2 separate regions of the Homo sapiens genome follow, and region 1 is linked to region 2. Evidence: promoter capture Hi-C in 16 types of primary human blood cells and fetal thymus (Javierre and others, 2016). All regions are on one chromosome and are shown on one strand. Each heading gives the region's core, a stretch centred on a gene start or on the middle of the fragment in contact. The rest is flanking DNA. Distances are from core to core; before and after follow the strand shown.

What was found. Contacts are between HindIII fragments. The CHiCAGO score rates a contact against its expected background, and 5 or more counts as called.
Region 1: a contact is called between a fragment that was not itself captured here and the fragment with the promoter of IP6K1 in region 2, in 1 of 17 cell types (endothelial precursors). The highest score is 6.5, in endothelial precursors.

The regions. Positions count from the first base shown.
Region 1 is chr3:50,061,513-50,067,558 of GRCh38, reverse strand. RBM6 (RNA binding motif protein 6) reads right to left here. Exons shown (of 21, transcript NM_005777.3): 14 at 6,012-6,046; 15 at 5,451-5,597; 16 at 2,433-2,528; 17 at 1,057-1,317. Among named protein-coding and RNA genes, the nearest start is that of RBM5, 24 kb to the left of the region's middle. The HindIII fragment of the contact is 1,270 bases long and covers 3,158-4,427 here.
Region 2 is chr3:49,783,283-49,789,673 of GRCh38, reverse strand. IP6K1 (inositol hexakisphosphate kinase 1) reads left to right here and starts at 3,132. Exons shown (of 6, transcript NM_153273.4): 1 at 3,132-3,320. RefSeq lists silencers at 1,279-1,488, 2,269-2,433, 3,169-3,518 and enhancers at 2,609-2,678, 2,765-3,454. The HindIII fragment of the contact is 18,469 bases long and covers 1-6,391 here.

The DNA.
Region 1 (6,046 bases), core at 2,543-5,042, 280 kb before region 2:
TATGGTGAAAACTGCACACTGTCAGAGCTGGATAGAATCAGATGAAGTTACAAGGACCAAAGAAGAAAAGGGGCTTATCTGAGGTCCAACTGTAACGTTAATGACACAGCTAAGATGAGAAACCCAGCAAGTAATGTCCTATTCCACAACCCTTTCTCTTCCTACCCATCCTCCATATTTGGCACCCTAGCCACAGTCATAATGCTTGGCTTCGGCCTATACATGGAAGTTCTTTGAGGGTAGGCATAACCTTAATCCAGAGCAATTCATTCTTGAATTGGACTGTTTTAATGATAGGAACTGGGGCTGATATACACTGAGGAAGGATTGTATAAGCTGCTGCGGCTTTTTTTTTTTTTTTTTTTTTTTTTTGAGATAGAGTCTTGGTCTGTCACCCAGGCTGGAGTGCAGTGGTGTGATCTCGGTTCACTGCAACCTTTGCCTCCCAGGTTCAAGCGATTCTCCTGCCTCAACCTCCCAAGTAGTTGGGATTACAGGCATGCGCCACCACATCCAGGTAATTTTTGTATTTTTAGTAGAGACAGTTTCACCATGTTGGCCAAGCTGGTCTCAAACTCCTGATCTCAAGTGATCTACCTAGGTGCCTTGGCCTCCCAAAGTGCTGGGATTACAGGTGTAAACCACTAGGCCCGGCCTAAATAATCTTTTTTATTCCCCATAATCCCCATCAATAATATGAGTCAACAGTTTTGTTTTGTTTTGTTTTTTAAGAGATGGAGTCTTGCTCTGTTACCCAGGCTGGAGTGCAGTGGCACGATCTCGGCTCACTGCAACCTCTGCCTCCCAGGTTCTAGCAATTCTCCTGCCTCAGCCTCCCGAGTGGCTGGGACTACAGGCACACAACACCACACCTGGCTAATTTTTTGTATTTTAGTACAAAGGGGGTTTCACCATGTTGCCCAGACTGGTCTTGTACTTCTGAGCCCAGGCAATCCACCCGCCTCGGCCTCCCAAAGTGCTAGGATTACAGGCATGAGCCACAAAGCCCGGCCAAGAGTCAACAGTTTGAAAGGGCATAGCTCCTTCCCCTAATACCTTGTGCAGGTCTGACAGCTGCTGGTGTTTGATCAGAACTTCTTTATTGGGAAACTGCCTTCTGCAAAGCAGACAAGCCAGTTTATTCCAGTCAGTGAGTTTGTCTTCTTCATTCTCCTTCTTGGTTTGCTCCTCTCGCTTCTGGGGCTGTGCTGTGCGGGGCTGTGGGGGAGGGGTCTGTTCCTCCTCTTCTTCCTCCTCATAGTCACTGTCTCCTCCATATTCACCCAAGAGGCCGATCAGTGGGTTTACCACTTTAGGCTGGAAGGAGAAGGCCAGGGATCAATACCAAATTCAACCTATATTTTGGGGTCCATTTTTTTTGATATTCTGATATGGGCATCTCATTTCATTGAATTGGGTTCAAAATAAACTCACTAGCCATGCTGCTCATTTCCCAGATGAAAGCAACATGGCCAGAGCTTGGCTTTGCTCCTTGTTCATTAAGAATAAACAAGAAAGATTCCTTTAGAAGTGACTCTAGCAACAGAATGTGAGGAGAAGGAAGAGAAAGGAAAATAAACATAGAAAATAGTAAAAGGTTACAAATTACAAAGAGGAAGAGATAAATACCTCCAAATTACTGTAACTCATGGAGGGAAGAAAAGATGACTTTCATTAAGACTCTAGCAAAGAGGATTTAGGAAGTAAACTAAAAGCAACTGCATTAATAGGCACTTGGGTAGACAGATCCAGCTCACATGTAAGGTAAAGGCAAAGCATGGTTAAGACAGATGCCACAATGAGCTGAATTAATAATGCGGAGCAGGAAAAGGGTACCTTATAAGAACTGTTAAATAATGATGCATAATCATTGGTCTATGATCACTCAAAATAAATAAATAATGCATGGTCACTATTGTTATATACCTGCATTCAATCAGAATCACTGGTGATTAGGTTGAGACTACTGCTTGAAGGCATCTAAAAAATGGGCACCAATATTAGCATCATTCACTCTGAACAGGCAGAAACTATAAAAAAATGACCACGCATGCACTCCATATCTAAGAGATTCTTGTGTGATGCCAAAAGGCAGGAAAGATTGAGGCTGAGAAAACGGGTTTCCTTGGTGATTTAGAGAACTGACAAGAACAAGATGATAAAAAGGGCTAGGCATCTCGTCTGGTAAGAATGGCACAGGGCAGAGAGAAAGAGTCCAGATAACTGCCTCTGGTTCTCCAGTAATACCCCCATTAGCAGACAGAAAACTTTATCTCATGCTTGTACTCAAAAGAAATGGGAATCCTTATTCGGGAGACATAGTGAGGTAAAAGACCAACACCAGAGGAAGGCATCAGCCTTTGCGCTTCCTCTTCTACTCGGAACCATCCCCAGCCCCAGCCCTAGGTCCAGGGGATCAATGTTGGTCTTACTGGAGGGGGACTCTCTTCCTTCTTCACAGTAGGAGGCAGGGGCTTCTTAAAGACGTCTTCTGCAGGGGCCTTCCCTTCACTGGCATTTTCCTGAAACTGATCAAACCAGAGGTAACTCTCACATGATATTCACTCATAATAACTGATAAAGGCTGGGCTGGGTGCGGTGGCTCACGCCTATAATCCCAGCACTCTGGGAGGTCAAGGCAGGTGGATCACAACGTCAGGAGATCGAGACCACCCTGGCTAATGCAGTGAAACTCCATCTCTACTAAAAATACAAAAAATTAGCTGGGCGTGGTGGCGGGCACCTGTAGTCCCAGTTAGTAGGGAGGCTGAGGCAGGAGAATGAACCCGAGAGGCGGAGCTTGCAGTGAGCCAAGATTGTGCCACTGTGCTCCAGCCTGGCCAACATGGTGAAACCCCGTCTCTAGTAAAAATACAAAAATTAGCTGGGTGTGGTGGTTTTGGCCTGTAATCCCAGCTACTTGGGAGGCTGAGGTAGAAGAACTGCTGGAACCTGGGAGGCAGAGGTTGCAGTGAGCCGAGATCGTGCCACTCCATTCCAGCCTGGGTGACAGAGAGAGACTCTGTCTCAAAAAATAAAATAAAATAAAATAAAACGTTAGTATATATTGCATGATTACTGTATGTCAGACCAGATGAGGCATGTATATATAAACATTGTCTTCTTCAGACTTTACTATGATCCTCCTATGTAAGCTTTACTATCTTAATTTTACAAATGATTGGGAATATAGTTTGACAGATTAAGTGGCTGAAGCAGAGTCCAAATATTAAATCAGTATGACTCTAAGTTTTTAAACACACACACACACTCTCTCTCCTCTTTTCTGTATCTCTAAACAACTAACAGTGTTAGAAGGGGAAAAAAAGGCTGGGCGCAGTGGCTCATGCCTGTAATCCCAGCACTTTGGTAGGCTGAGGTGGGCGGATCACAAGGTCAGGAGTTCGAGACCAGCTTGACCAACATGGTGAAACCGCGTCTCTACTAAAAATACAAAAATTAGCTGGGCGTTGTGGCAGCGCCTGATATCCCAGCTACTCAGGAGGCTGAGGCAGGAGAATCCCTTGAGCCTGGAAGGCGGAGGTTGCAGTGAGCCGAGATAGATCACGCCACTGCACTCCAGCCTGGGCGACAGAGCGGCTCCGTCTCAAAAGAAAAAAAAGGGAAAAAAAGGTGTTATGAATTGAATCACAAGCAAATTCATCCATTTTCACTAATGCATAACTGATATCAAGGTAGGTGTGATCTTGGCTCACTGCAACCTCTGCCTCTCAGGTTCAAGAGATTCTCCTGCCTCAGCCTCCTGAGTAGCTGGGACTACAGGCTTGCGCCACCACGTCCAGCTAATTTTTGTCTTTTTAGTAGAGATGGGGGTTTCACCATATTGGCTAGGCGGTCTCAAACTCCTGACCTAAAGTAATCCGCCTGCCTTGGCCTCTCAAAGTGCTGGGATTACAGGCATGAGCCACCATGCCCGGCAGATTTTCTTTTTTTTTTTTTTTTGAGACAAGTCTGGCTCTGTTGTCCATGCTGGAGTGCAGTGGCGCAATCACAGCTCACTGCAATCTCCTGGGCTCAAGCGATCCTCTTAACTCAGTCTCCCAAGTAGCTTGGACTACAGGCATGCATCACCACAGTAGGCTAATTTTTTTTGTATTTTTGGTAGAGATGGAGTTTCACCATGTTGCTGGTGTCAAACTCCTAAACTCAGGCATCCACCTGTCTTGGCCTCCCAACGTGCTGGGATTACAGGTGTGAGCCACTGCACCCTGCCTAATAATTTGATTTTGTATTAGATGTAAAAATGTTCATCATCTCTGATTCTGAAAATGTGTCATAGGGAGTAATTTAAAAGAAGAAACAAAATGCTAAATGTTATATATTATGACAGTATAAGATTAGAAAGAGGCGAGCAAGGTGGGTCTTGCCTGTAACTGAAGCACTTTGGGAGACTGAGACAGGAAGCTTACTTGAGGCCAGAAGTTCGAGATCAGCCTGGTCAATCTAGCAAGATCCTGTCTCTACAAAAAAGCAAAAATTAGCTGGTCATGGTGGCTCATGCCTGTAGTCCCCGCTACTTGGGAGGCTGAGGTGGGAGGACTGCTTAAGCCCATGGGTTTGACGTAGAAGTGAGCTATGATCATGCCACTGCACTCCAACCTGGGAGACAGAGGAAGACTTTGTCTCAGAAAAAAAAAAAAAAAAAGGAAAAAGAAAAGATTAGAAAGAGAAGACAAATAATGTAGGAGAGATGAAGAAAATGAAGGTACAGTTATACCGTGAATTTTTACCATGTGGGCATTAAAAATAATAGAGTATATAGAAACATGGAAAAAATACTTAGGATAAAAAGTGACTAAACAGTATCTCCTGCTATAATTACAACTAGAGAAATGTGTATAAAGTCAAACACTAAAAAAGGAATGTAGAAAAGTGAAAATGTATGGAGCTGAGGTGTTGGGATTTGAGCTGGGCCACTTTGTTCTACCATCCATAGTTTTCCCATTTGTAAAAGAGAGAGTTGGGATATAAGAGGTGAGGGAATTGCCTACACCAGGTAAAAATACTCATTAACAGAGGTTTTTTTTTTTTTTTTGATACAGAGTCTTGCTCTGTTGCCAGGCTGGAGTGTAGTGGCGCGATCTCGGCTCACTGCAACCTCTGCCTCCAGGGTTCAAGCAATTCTCCTGCCTCAGCCTCCTGAGTAGCTGGGACTACAGGCGTGTACCACCACACGCAGCTAATTTTTGTATTTTTAGTAGAGACAGGGGTTTCACCATGTTGGCCAGGATGGTCTCGATCTCCTGACCTCATGATCCGCCCGCCTTGGCCTCCCAAAGTGCTGGGATTACAGGCGTTAGCCACCACGCCCGGCTGACAGAGTATTTTTAAAGTTACTTTACACTTGCAAACATAGATATCCTCTGTTCGTACCTCCAACATTTTAATAACTATGTGGCAAAAGACAGCAAATTAACAATTCCTCTTACCCTCGTCACTCCTCTGTCTTTTTTCTCCTTGCCATCTCTTTTAGACATTTCCTTCTTGCTACTTGACTTTCCTTGACTGGTGGGTTTTTTTTCCTTGATCTCTTCTTCCTCAGGTAATCCAGGATCCTGGGGCACATAGACTTCTTGCTGCGATACAGTTGGAAACAAGTAAGTCTACAGAATGTTTCAGTTTCCCAGCAATTCCAGGTCTAAGGCGCACAGTTCCCTTTTAGGGGAAGAAACAACTTTTTTACTTACAAGTCTAAGAAGAGTCCACATCAATCTAAAAACCCACTCCAGGGACCAGGACACATTCAGACCACCCACTGTCCACTTTTTCAAGAGCAACACTGTTCTTACCTGTATTGCCACAAGGCACTGATTTTCCATATAGGCAACAGTTCTGTTTCCATAGATCTAAACTTTTCCACTTTTCATGCAATGAGCATCCAGAGAATCCAGGGAATAAAATCCTCAAGTAGCAAATTATGGGTGCTTTTCTCAAAAGAATCATTGACAGAGGTAAAAAAAAAAAAAAAAAAAAAAAAGCCCCAAACTCACCTGGGTATTGGGGTCATAATAAGTTCCTGCCAAGG
Region 2 (6,391 bases), core at 1,883-4,382:
GAAAATGGGGCATCCATCCCCTAAAGCATTTATCCTTTGTGTTACAAATAATCCAATTATACTCTTTCAGTTATTTTAAACTGTACAATTAAGTTATTATTGACTACAGTCACTCTGTTGTGCTATCAAACACTAGGTCTTATTCATTTTTCTTTTTTTTTGGTACCCATTAACCGTCCCACCTCCCCACCCCTTCCAGACTCTGGTAACTATCCTTCTACTCACTATCTCCATGAATTCAATTGTTTTGTTTAAATCTTTTTCCTTTTTTTTTTTTTTGAGATGTAGTCTTACTTTGTCACCCAGGCTGGAGTACAGTGGCACGATCTTGGCTCACTGCAACCTCCGCCTCTCATGATCAAGCAATTCTCGTGCCTCAGTCTCCTGAGTAGCTGGGACCACAGGTGTGCACCACCATGCCGGCTAATTTTTTTATTTTTTATTTTTAGTAGAGATGGAGTTTTCCTATGTTGGCCAGGCTGGTCTTGAACTCCTGACCTCAGGTGATCCTCCTGCCTCAGCCTCCCAAAGTGCTGGGATTACAGGCATGAGCCTCCGCACCAGCCAATCTCACAATCTCATTCTTTTTAATGGCTGAATAATATTCCATTCTGCATATGTACCATATTTTCTTTTCTTTTTTTTTTTTTTGAGATGGAGTCTCGCTCTGTTGCCCAGGCTGGAGCACAGTGGCGTGATCTCGGCTCACTGCAAGTTCCGCCTTCTGGGTTCACGCCATTCTCCTGCCTCAGCCTCCTGAGTAGCTGGGACTACAGGCGCTTGCCACCACGCCCGGCTAATTTTTTGTATTTTTAGTAGAGATGGGGTTTCACCGTGTTAGCCAGGATGGTCTCCATCTCCTGACCTCATGATCCGCCCGCCTCGGCCTCCCAAAGTGCTGGGATTACAGGCGTGAGCCACCGCACCCGGCCCATATGTACCATATTTTCTTTATCCATTCACCTGTTGATGGACACTTAGGTTGCTTCCAAATCTTGGCTATTGTGAATGGCACTGCAGCAAACATGGAAGTGCAGATATCTTTTTGATATACTGATTTCCTTTCCTTTGGGTACATACCCAGCAGTGGGATTGCTGGATCATGTGGTAGCTGTATTTTTAGTTTTCTGAGGAACCTCCGAACTGTTATCCACAGTAGTTATACCACTGTTGCTTTTTGAGGGTCCCATCAAACTTCAGGGCAATTTGCCAACTGTATGTGGAGGTTTTCTTGGGAAGGATCTGGAGCTTTTGCACTGCGGTGAGGGGTGATGCAGACTTGAGAATCCTGTGGCATGGCTGGTCCTGGAGGATTAGCAGAATCCCCCTTTTGAGGGTTGTTGGCTTTTCTTCCTGATCTGTTTCTTCTGGTTCCTCTGCTCTCACATCTCCCTGTGTTGACCTGAGCTATTGCATGTAGCCAAGTGGCCTGCAGCAATCTGCTGGTGGGCAGGTCTTGCTGGATGCAGTGTTGGCCCACTCTCCATGCCCAACCTGACATCAGGTCTCAGGCTTCTGCCAGCTCTCCAAGAGGACCTTACTGTGGTAAATCCAAGTTATCACAGTCTTTACTCGTCTGTTGAGTCTGTGGGCCTGAACCCCCTCAGGGTACTGGAGAACCTCCCTTTTTTTTTTTTGAGACAGAATTTTGCTCTGTCACCCAGGCTAGAGTGTGGTGGCGTGATCTCAGCTCACTGAACCTCTGCCTCCCAGGTTCAAGTGATCCTCCTGCCTCAACCTCCTGAGTAGCTGGGATTACAGGCACCTGCCATCACGTCCAGCTAATTTTTGTATTTTTAGTAGGGACAGGGTTTCACCATTTTGGCCAGGCTGGTCTCGAACCTCTGACCTCAAGTGATCCACCTTCTTTGGCCTCCCAAAGTGCTGGATTACAGGCATGAGCCACTGCGCCTAGCTAGGAGGACCTCCCCTTCTGAACCAGTTATGGTATCCCAGGGCCAGGAAGAAGCTGAAAGCCTTCTGTGGGAACAAAACAAAGCAAAACAAAAACGCTTCATGGGGCTTCCACCAAAGTTAGTGTTTTAAGGCACGCCTCAGGAACAGCAACTTGGAAGCAGGTTGTTCCAGGAAGTGGTTGTAGGCAGATTTTTCCTGAGTTCTTCCCCTGCTCTGAGGGCTCATTAAATCTTCCTCTGAGAAGCTCCACTTTTATCTTCATTTTACAGATGGGACAACCAAAGCTAAAGAGAGGCTAAGGCTCAAAAGTCAGAGTTAGCTAGTTGGGGCATTTGGGTGTGGGCCCAGGCCACGTAACTTCATCTGTTGTTCTAAGCCTGAAGCCAAGCCCAGAGTTAGGTGTTCTGTATGGGGAGCAAGGTGTGACCATCTTCCTGGGACCATTAGTCTGCTTGGGAGGCCGGTCATGACAGTCCAGGGCAAAAGATGCTGTCACAGGATCTCAAGACAAGATGCTCTAGGGAAGAGAAAAGGGAGTGCCCGCTGTGTGTCAGGACTTGTGCTAGGCTCTAAACCTCAGGCAGGAAAGCATGGGCAATGAGCCAGAGGCTGCTGTGGCAGCACAGACTGCGGTACCTCGAGGCTAGTAAGGGACAAAGCGTGGGAAGCTGGGATAGAGGCTCCTCACACTCTGAAACCAGCAGGAGGAGGTGCGAGACCCAGCACCTCCATTTCTAGAGGTGGCGTGACCTTGGCTCGGCCTCCCCTCTCTGAGCCTCAGTTTCCTCTCCAGAGTGAACTGGGGGCTGCACCCCCCTTCTCCCAGAGTGGGGGACAAAAAAACGAATAGCACACCGCTGAGATTCCCTGTGTGTGCGCAAGTGTATGACAAGACGCCGCCGGTACCGCACGAGGGCCAGGGACGCAGAGAGGCCAAGGGCGCTCCGGCCTCGTAGTAGCCAGCGAAAACTCCGCCGCCAGCCACTCCGGGAACGAAGCGCATGCGCCAACCCATGCCGTCACAGTCACGTGCCCCACGCTTTCGGCAGAGGCCCTGAGAGGCAGACTCTGACTGACACGTGAGCTGACCTGTCAGCAGGAAGCACTTCCCCTGGCGACGAGCAAAAAGACTGTTGATTGGGGATAGCACCCCCTCGGGGGCGGGTTCTTTGCAGTCCTGGTTACTATGACGCCCGGCCCCCGCCCCCTCGGCTAGCCGCCATCTTGTTGTTGATCCGTACCCAGTGGGCAGCGCCGGGAGCTGGACCAAGCGGCCGGTGAGAGGCCGCTGTAGCGGTGCTCAGCCACCTGTGCTGCCTGCCAGGGGGCGGGCCGAAACCTGGAGGCCCGGGGGGCCCAGCTCCCGTAGGGAGCCGTGGGCGCTCGGTGCCCGGGCCGGGCAGGTGAGTGACAGGAGCCGGGCCGATAGACCGGCCTGACGCCCGCGGGGAGGGCGGTGGCGGGCGCGGGGTTGGAGTGGGCGCGTGTGGGGTCGGGGCTCCGGTGGGGCCATCACTGGAACATCGCTCGAGCGTCCTGACCGGCCGCCCGCCGAGCCTCCCAGATGCTGGCACCGAAGCCGGGGGGACAGCCGGTGTGGAGGACGGAGAGCGCCAGTGCCTGAGGGTTGGCCGGCTAGTAGCGGGAAACCAGCTTCTCTGACCGAAGCTCTGGACTCCGCTGATCCGGAGCGCTAAAGTGTGTCCGGTGCCACCCTGATGCTCTCCTGGGAGTTATGTTGCTCCTGGCTGAGAAATAGACTTACCTCTTTCTTAGATAGCGTTCCTGCGAGTGATTTTCAGGACGCTGGATGCTAAGACTAGACGAAGCAAGCCAAAGCCCCCGCGAGCCAGGCAGGCCGGTGTCACGGCCCTATGATTATGGCAAGGGGGACCCTCTGCCTGGCTGCTGCTTCCTGAGACCCGTTCGGAACCTCACGTGTACCTCGAAGCTCACCGTTTTCCTCGCAAAGAACCTGGTTAAATGTCCATAATGGCTGAGTTTTATTTTGGAACATAATTTCTTTGGTTCTTCACCACCACTTTTTGGAGAGTGGTAATGTCTTCCTCTTTTTGCTTTAGGAGAAAGTGAGTATTATGGTGATGACTTGATTTTATCTCCTAAAGGGATGCTCGCCATAGGAGACAAAGGAAACGTAGGAGTGTCTTAGAATCGGAAAAAGAAACTTGTTTTTGTTGTGGATGATATGGAACTGGCAAATTAACTGTTTTTTTTCTTTTTTTTCTTTTGAGACAGAGTCTCTCGCTCTGTTGCCCAGGCCGGAGTGCAGTGGCGCGATCTCGGCTCACCACAGCCTCCACCTCCCGGGTTCAAGCGATTATCCTGCCTCAGCCTCCCGAGTAGGTAGGACTACAGACACGCGCCACCATGCCCGGCTAATTTTTGTATTTTTAATAGAGACGGGGTTTCACCATGTTGGCCAGGCTGGTCTCGAACTCCTGACCTCGTGATCCACCCCCCTTGGCCTCCCAAAGTGCTGGGGTTACAAGTGTGAGCCACTATGCCCGGCGCAAATTAACTTTTAACAGTACTAAAATTATCTTGCTCAGTGAAAACACCTTCAAGCCCCTTTCCTGTGAATTTGGGCAAGTTGGAGATCCTCAGTAGAGTGTGCAGGTCTAGGAAGAGTTCTCATTGCTCCAAAACACATTTCTCTTGACCTGTGGCCTCTTTGGTTCTTTGTACAGTCTTCTTGTATGTGGTCATAGAATATGCCTGCATGAGATGACTAAGAAGTCAAGCGACAATACTTTGTGCACTTTTTGTTTTGTTTTGTTTTGTTTTGTTTTTTTGAGATGGAGTCTTGCTCCGTTGCCAGGCTGGAGTACAGTGGTGCCATCTCGGCTCACTGCAACCTCTGACTCCCTGGTTCAAGCAATTTTCCTGCCTCAGCCTCCCGAGTAGCTGGGACTACAGGCACGTGCCACCACACCTGGCTAATTTTTGTATTTTTAGTAGAGACGGGGTTTCACTATGTTGGCCAGACTGGTCTCGAACTCCTGACCTCATGATCAACCCGCCTCCGCCTCCCAAATTGTTGGGATTACAGGCATGAGCCACCGCGCCAAGCCTACTTTTTTTTTTTTTTTCTGAGACGAAGTCTCGTTCTCTCACCCAGGCTGGAGTGCAATGGCACAATCTCAGCTGACTGCAACCTCTGCCTCCTGGGTTCAAGCAAGTCTCCTGCCCCAGCCTCCCAAGTAGCTGGGATTACAGGTGCGTGCCACCATGCCCGGCTAATTTCTGTATTTTTAGTAGAGACCTGGTTTCACCATGTTGTTCAGGCTGATCTCGAACTCCTGACCTCCTGATCCGCCTGCCTTGGCCTCCCAAAGTGCTGGGATTACAGGCGTGAGCCACTGTGCCTGGTCACGCGCCTAGCCTACTTTGTGCACTTCTATCAGGATCTTGTCACCTCTGAATGTATAATTTTGAAAGAGGCCAGGTGCGGTAGCTCATGTCTGTAATCCCAGCACTTTGGGAGGCTGAGGCGGGCGGATCACCTGAGGTCAGTAGTTAAGAGATTAGCCTATCCAAAATGGCAAAATCCCATGTCTACTAAAAATACAAAAATTAGCTGGGCGTGGTGGTGCATGGAGGCTGAGGCAGGAGAATCACCTGAACCCGGAAAGCGGAGGTTGCAGTGAGCTGAGATCGCGCCACTGCACTCCAGCCTGGGTGACAGAGTGAGACTCAGTCTCCAAAAATAAATAAATAAATAAATAATAAATAAAATAATAATTTTGAAAGAAACCAGCTCCTTGGTCAGGAGATCCTTTAGGAAAGCAGGTGCTGAACCCAGAGGACGCTGGCAGCTTGTTGCTGTTCGACTGAGTTTATACTGCACTTGTGAGGCAAGGGAGAAGTTGAGTAGTCTTTAGTTATTTATTTCATTGTCCTTCAGGGCCATTTTTTGAATCTTTAGTTCATTATAATCTTGGTAAGACCAGTTCCTTGGGCAGTTCTTGAAAGGAGGGGGATATTAAAATATTAGCTTTTCTTTCTTTCTTTTTTTTTTTTTTTGAGACGGAATCTCGCTCGGTTGCGCTGGCTGGAGTGCAGTGGCATGGTCTTGGCTTACTGCAAGCTCCACCTCCTGGGTTCACGCCATTCTCCTGCCTCAGCTTCCCAAATAGCTGGGACTATAGGCACCTGCCACCATGCCCGGCCAATTTTTTTGTATTTTTAGGAGAGACGGGGTTTCACCGTGTTAGCCAGGATGGTCTCGATCTCCTGACCTCATGATCCGTCTACCTCGGCCTCCCAAAGTGCTGGGATTACAGGCGAGAGCTACTGCACCCAGCAAAAATATTAGCTTTTCAAAATTGTCCCAAGCCCCTGCTTTTTTTTTTTTTCTGAGACAGGGTTTCACCATGTTGGCCAGGCTGGTCACTCCTGACAGGTGATCCACCTGCCTCAGCCTTGGCCTGGGATTACAGGGGTGAGACACCAC